Regions from separate parts of the Homo sapiens genome. Here region 2 is linked to region 1. Evidence: promoter capture Hi-C in 16 types of primary human blood cells and fetal thymus (Javierre and others, 2016). All regions are on one chromosome and are shown on one strand. The core of a region is centred on a gene start or on the middle of the fragment in contact, and the rest is flanking DNA. Distances in the headings are between cores, read along the strand shown. Region 1 holds the start of NSMCE2 (NSE2 SUMO ligase component of SMC5/6 complex). Region 2 holds the start of FAM91A1 (family with sequence similarity 91 member A1).

What was found. The method cuts DNA at HindIII sites, captures the fragments that hold promoters and counts their contacts. A CHiCAGO score of 5 or more calls a contact.
Region 2: a contact is called between the fragment with the promoter of FAM91A1 here and the fragment with the promoter of NSMCE2 in region 1, in 2 of 17 cell types (monocytes and total B cells). The highest score is 11.1, in monocytes.

What each region holds. Positions count from the first base shown.
Region 1 is chr8:125,090,105-125,093,280 of GRCh38, forward strand. It overlaps NSMCE2 (NSE2 SUMO ligase component of SMC5/6 complex), which reads left to right and starts at 1,756. Exons shown (of 8, transcript NM_173685.4): 1 at 1,756-1,854. WASHC5 (WASH complex subunit 5) reads right to left here and starts at 1,688. Exons shown (of 29, transcript NM_014846.4): 1 at 1,511-1,688. RefSeq lists a silencer at 1,408-1,577 and an enhancer at 1,628-1,847. The HindIII fragment of the contact is 6,790 bases long and covers 1-3,176 here.
Region 2 is chr8:123,767,140-123,770,043 of GRCh38, forward strand. It overlaps FAM91A1 (family with sequence similarity 91 member A1), which reads left to right and starts at 1,300. Exons shown (of 24, transcript NM_144963.4): 1 at 1,300-1,635. The coding sequence starts at 1,564. RefSeq lists a silencer at 1,486-1,635. The HindIII fragment of the contact is 7,175 bases long and covers 1-2,178 here.

The sequences.
Region 1 (3,176 bases), core at 506-3,005:
AGCTGAAAGAAGGAAATCACTTAGTTACATTTTATGTACTAGACCTCCTAACCCGGACTAGTTATATTTTCCATGTAACAAATGGAATTTCCATAATTTGTACAAATATAATTTGGCTAGAGTATTTGGTAAATAGCCCCCTCGTTGGCTGAAGGACTAGTCCTGAAGAACAGAATCTAAGAACCATCATTAAAAATGCCTAATCAAGTTGCAGCTAAGAGGTAGGTGGATGGCTTTACAAAGTGTTAAGACTCAGCTAAGTCTTAAAAAACCACTTTAGAATTAGGTCCAAATAAACACTGTAGAAGAAGCTATGTTAAATTATCCTTTCAGAGGTTCTCTTGGTGCTAGGGATCAAGAACACTTGAAGATCAGTTTTCTCAATACAGGCTATATTATTATTGGCATGAAATCCAGAGATCCCACTATATTTTCTTATTTTCTTTTACAAGTGCCGGTAACTTCATTTTTAATAATTTGGCGTGGAACTGTGATTTTCAGTTTGGGAAGTAATCCTAATCAAAAGACATGCTTTCAAGAATAAGGCATGACATCCTTACACCAATTACCCTGAGTACAGAATAATATTTCTTAAGGAAATCGAATTGTCGTGGACAAACAGTTTACCCTCTTCAGAGGACAAAAGAAGGCAGGTCTATTTTTAGCCTTTCGCAAAACCTCAGTTCCATAAAGGAAGCACTGGTCTCCACAAATCCATTATCACAAACAAAATATAACGGTTGCTGATCAAGATAAATGCAAGCTGCATATATTTTCCAGAAAAGTTCTGAAATGAGGCTGAACCTGAAATCCTGGGAAAGGCAGGTGAAGGACAATTAGAGAAGGTGTCCCTTGTAGTGCACAAAGACAGTAAAACTTCGCCCTCACTACGCCTCACCTATGTTTGAGGGAGCTCCATGCGCTTGCAATCAGGAGACCCAGTTTTATGGCTCTGTGACTTTTTTTCTTTCTCCTGTCCGATCATAATCCTGATTCCGATCCCAGGAATCAGGGCCCTGGGAACTTTTTTTTTTTCCCCCAAATGCAAAGGATTTTGACATCAGTATGTCACAGGTGAAGGCATTAAGGCGCGGCGAGCAGCAATGACTTGCCCAAACTCACAGCCCATGGCATAACTAGAATGCAAATCCACGTCTGTCAGCCTGTAAAAGTCCTCACTACTAGCCTTTCAGTTTTCTCAAAAGCAAAGAGAAATAACGACGACATCCATACAGCAGTGTTCCCGGAAACTTGGAAGGATGAGATTCGGACCAAGCAGCTGAACGGTGCTTCCTAAAGCGAGGAAGGGGTGTGCAAAATGATTTCCCCCTAAGCGGAGACGAAGAGCTGGATTACAGCCCCCGCCCCAGAAAGCCCCTAAGCCCTCCATCCCGAGTCCCCCATCCAGGCTGCACGCGACTCTGCAGACCTCCCCGTGGCCAGCGCGGCCCAGCGGGGAGGGGAAGGGGGCCATGCAAAAATGGGGCGCGCTCACTCCATCCCCACTCACCTGTCAGCCGGGCCGCGCCACGGCGCACGCGCAGGGCCGGAGGTCGCGCGCGGAGCCGGCACCCAGTTTCCACCCCTCCCTCAAGGCGGCGGTCCTCTTCTATCCGCAGTCCCGGACCTGGAGCGGGTCAGACCCCGACTTCCGCCCCTGACTCCCCAGGCGGTCACATGACCGAAGCGGCTGGGAGCAGGGAGGGGCATCATGTGACCACTCGCCGGCGACGGCTGATGACGCAAGAGCCCGCTCTCACTTTTCAGCGGCAGGCGAAGGGGGCTGAGGAAAGGAGGTGGGTCTAGGCAGGGGAAATTGGGGTGCCACCAGACGGAGACAGCTTGGACTACCAGGTAGGGAAGAAGCGGGGGACGGCAATGGGGAGGGTGGCAGGAGTTTCGCCACCCTCAGGGACACTCCACGGGGACTCCGAGCCGGGGGTCCGTCTACCCGGATTATGGTTGTGGAACTTTTCACGCCACGGTAGTGAGTCTGGGACAGTTTACCCTCCTGTCCGAGACGCCATCTCTCCATCCTTTCGCCTCAAGTGTGTAGGGGCAAGATTACGAATTTTTGATCCAAATAGATTTTGTTTGAACTGACTTTAAAAGTAAGGCCACGGGAAGGTCGTTTGAATAAACTCTCTGGACCTCAATTTCCTCTTCAGTTATGTAGATTGCAGTGAGAATTAGCGATAAGGAGAATAAAGTGCCGGGACACCAGTTTATGGCATTCTGTAGGTGACCGAGAAATGATGATGTCTGTTGTTATTTTTGTAACTGGCCAAATCTTTATTGGTCCCCTATTTTGTGTGAGGAATTGCTTTATATGCAATAGAATATGTCAGGGTTCTAGTTTAAGGAGGTGTCAGTTTAAAGAAGCTGCAGACATGTGAGCAAATAGTTGTGATGAGTTTCATAATAGGAGTGTGTTGTGTACATGTGCATGTGATAGGGATAATGGTAGCATGAGGGAGGGAAAAGCAATTGTATGAGAAGGATTCAGAGAGAAGGGATTATCCTTGCATGTTGAAAAAGGAGAGGCAGCTCTGGCTGACTTGTACAAGGCTCCCATGGATTTAAAGGAAGTCAACATATTGTCTATAAATAACATGCAGAGAAAAAACTCAGGAAATGCACAACTTGTTCTAAACTTTCTTGGAGATCATAGGTACCGGGAAGAAAAAGATCAGTGTTATTACCTGGGGAGGGATCCAAGAGAGATTGATTTAAACCAGTTATTCTCAACTGATGCACTATTGACATTTTAGGCCAGATAATTTTTTGCTGTGGGGTCAGGGTGAGGGCTGTCCTGTGTTTTGTAGGATGCTTAAGAGCATCCCTGGCCTCTGCCCGCTAGATGCCAACCACAAAGTCTACAGATACTGCTAAATGTCCCCTTGCGAGAGGGGTAAAATCCTTCTTGGTTGAGAACCACTTAAACCAAGCCATGAAAGATGGTATCTTAGTCAATGTGGGCTTCTGTAACGGAAATGCCATAAACTAGGTAGCTTATGAACAACAGAAATTTATTTCTCACAGTTCCGGGGCCTGTTTCCTGGTTCATAGGTGGCTTCTTGCTGTGTCCTCACATGGTGGAATGGCAAAGCAGCTATCTGGAGCATCTTTTAAAAGGGCACTAATCTTATTCATGAAAGTGGGCCTCATCACCTCCC
Region 2 (2,904 bases), core at 50-2,549, 1.3 Mb before region 1:
CCTGCCAAGCCTCAGTCTCCTCCTCTATCAAACTGGGATAGTAAGTGGTTACTGTTGTAGGAATATCAGGGTTGTGAGGAATAATCTATTGTCAAGTCAAGGCCTTAATACATGGCGGGCAGGTAATCAATATTTGTTGAATAAATGTCTCACGGTTAGAGTTCAGTTAACCTTAGCTATGCTGATGAGGATCTGTAAACATAAGGTTCAAAGCACTTATCTTTGGGTTATTATAGTTGGATAATAGGAGACCAAAACATCTAAGCAAGGGCAGTGTGTACTTGTCACCTTTATTTCATCAGACATAATGGGGTTTCTGCTAAGCATCAGACTTGCCAGCTGTTGAGGTGTGAGCTAGGTATCTTATAAAAAGTTCTAAGTATACATCTCCCAGTATATAATAAAACATTATTTAAAACCATTGTTAAAAACTGAAAAACAGTTGCAATAACACTGAACTTGTCTCTGGTTGCTGCCAGGAATAATGGTCACGGGTTTGCTAAGGCAGCGTAACAACTTCTGAAAGAAATTATTCCCAAAGACCTTATCACTCAATCTGAAATTAAGACATGCTGGATTTTTGCTTTTAAGTGACTCTGGAGGCATTTGTGTGGAGCAGAATAAAGCAGAAACCGACAGGCTGCATGACAAAGTTGGCAAGGGTATCTCTCTGTCAGCCCTGTAGGCTGCCTCGACCTGTCAGCACCACTGTTTAAAATTTCAGCTCCCTGAATCCCTGCATTGTAAGAATTTGGATCTTCTTGGGAAGTGGAGCCCAATGACGTGCAGCACACCGCGGAAGGGAAGAGGGCTTACCAGACCTTTGCTCTCCCACTGCCCATGCTTCTCGCTCAACCCGGTGCGAGACCTGACTTAGAGATTATTTCTTTCTCCAGGGCCCTGGACCCGTCCCCGCAACCCCCCGCCCCGTCTCACTGGCCCGGGTTCCGGGCTGGCCTGTGGAGAACCCCCGCGAGCGCACCGCACTCCAATGTAAAGCCAGCCACTGCCGGCCCGCTTCCCAGGTCGCTTTTCTCTGAAAACCGACCCCAGTGCCTCCGGCTTTACAATTTGAGTAAACTGGGTCATCAGCAACGGCAACGCAGACCCAAGCGACTATCGCCGTTCATTCAGAGACTGAAACGGGGAGACGAAGCGCGCGGGCGGGGAACGCTCACCCGGGCACCTCCCGGTACCTCGTCGTCGCCCCGCCCCGCAGCCTGTAGAGGGCGTGGCTAGAGGCCAGTCCGTGCCCCGCCCCTCCGGCCGCGCGCCAGCGGGCGGAAGTGACGTGTGCCCAGAGCCATTTCCGGCGGCCCGAAACTAGGAAGAAACTTGGAGCTGTTCAGGCGATCCAGCCTCCAATCGCTGCTGCTCTTGTACTCGGTTGGCCCGGGCGGCGCTGAACTGTCGGGAGCCTAGGCCATGGGGCAGCCTGGGCCTTCTGCAGTGTGAGGCGCGGGGCCTCCCGCGTCGCTCCGCTGACAGGCTGCGGGCGGGCAGGCGGGAGGCGTAGTGTGGGTCGCGGTGGCGGCCCCGGCCGCCGGCCCTGGCCGCGGCATCATGAACATAGACGTGGAGTTCCACATCCGGCACAACTACCCCTGGAACAAGTTGCCGGCCAACGTGAGACAGGTACGGCCGGAACCTGGGACCGGGCCCCTGACGGATTCGGCCCGCCCAGCGGTCACCTGCTTGCCTCGCTCGCGGGGCCCGAGCGGGCTGCTGCCGGCTGACTCCCTTCCTTTACTCCTCCGTGGTCTTGGGGAGACGGACCTTCAGCCCAGGGCGAGGAGGGGACGGCTGTGGGGCCACAGGGCCAGGACGGGGCGATCGCTAAATGGGATGGCATGGTGTCCACAGGACTCGACTGGCGCCTTTGCCCGCAGGATACATTCAGCCAGGCACCTGCGATAGAGATTTTAAACACGGTCCTTGACCTCCGGAATTTCAGGATGGTGGGAAAGGGATGGGAAACAAATGAATACGATACAGGATGATAGCAGCTCATACACACCTGCATTGTAGTATATGTGAGAGCAGAGGGAGGGAGAAATTATCCTGGGAGAGTTGGAAGGATTTTTAAGGCAGGCACTTAAATTGGGCCTTGGAGGACGAATAAGAGTTAAATAAGAGGGAATAAAGATTTTTCCAGGGGGAGGGAAAGTCATTTTACAAAGCTTGGATGAGTGAAAGAACATGTCTCATGAGTAGCAAGTGACTGTATCACCAGAGTTTGGACTGACATGTTTGGAGTTGAAGTTTTTTGAGTGCGCGGGGCTGGTAGCAGATGAGCCTGGAAAAGTGGTCAGGGCCAGATTTTGAAGGTGCTTGTGTGCTTTGTTTTGTTGGACTTTATCCTCCAGACAAGATGGGTTTATCAGAGATGTTTCAACAAGAGTGACATGAGGTTTTTGAAAGTTAATTCTCGATTTTTTTAGTCTGTTTTACTCAATTGTTTAATAGATATTTATTGACCACCTACTAGGTGCTGTGCGTTGCTCTAGGTGCAGGTAATTTGCAACAGTCAACAAGACAAAGACTGCCTTCATGGAGCTTACATTTTACTAAAGAAAGACGTAAACAAATAAATGAATAAATACGTAACATAGCAGATGGTTTTAAGTCTTACGAAAGTAGTGATATGGGCTACAGATAACGCACTGCTGCTCTGGTCATAGATTGACCTTCGCTTCCTCCCATTATACTTGGTCGAGAGTGAAATTCAGTTTTCTGTTGGCACTCGGCAGTGGCATTTTTGGGAAGTTTGGAATGGTGGCGGTGATGGTATATAAGGATTATTTATTTATTTTTATTTTTATTTTCATTTCTTTGAGACAGAGTCTCCTGTTGCCCAGGCTGGAGTGCAGTGGTGTGATCTCCGCTCACTGCAAACTCTGCTTC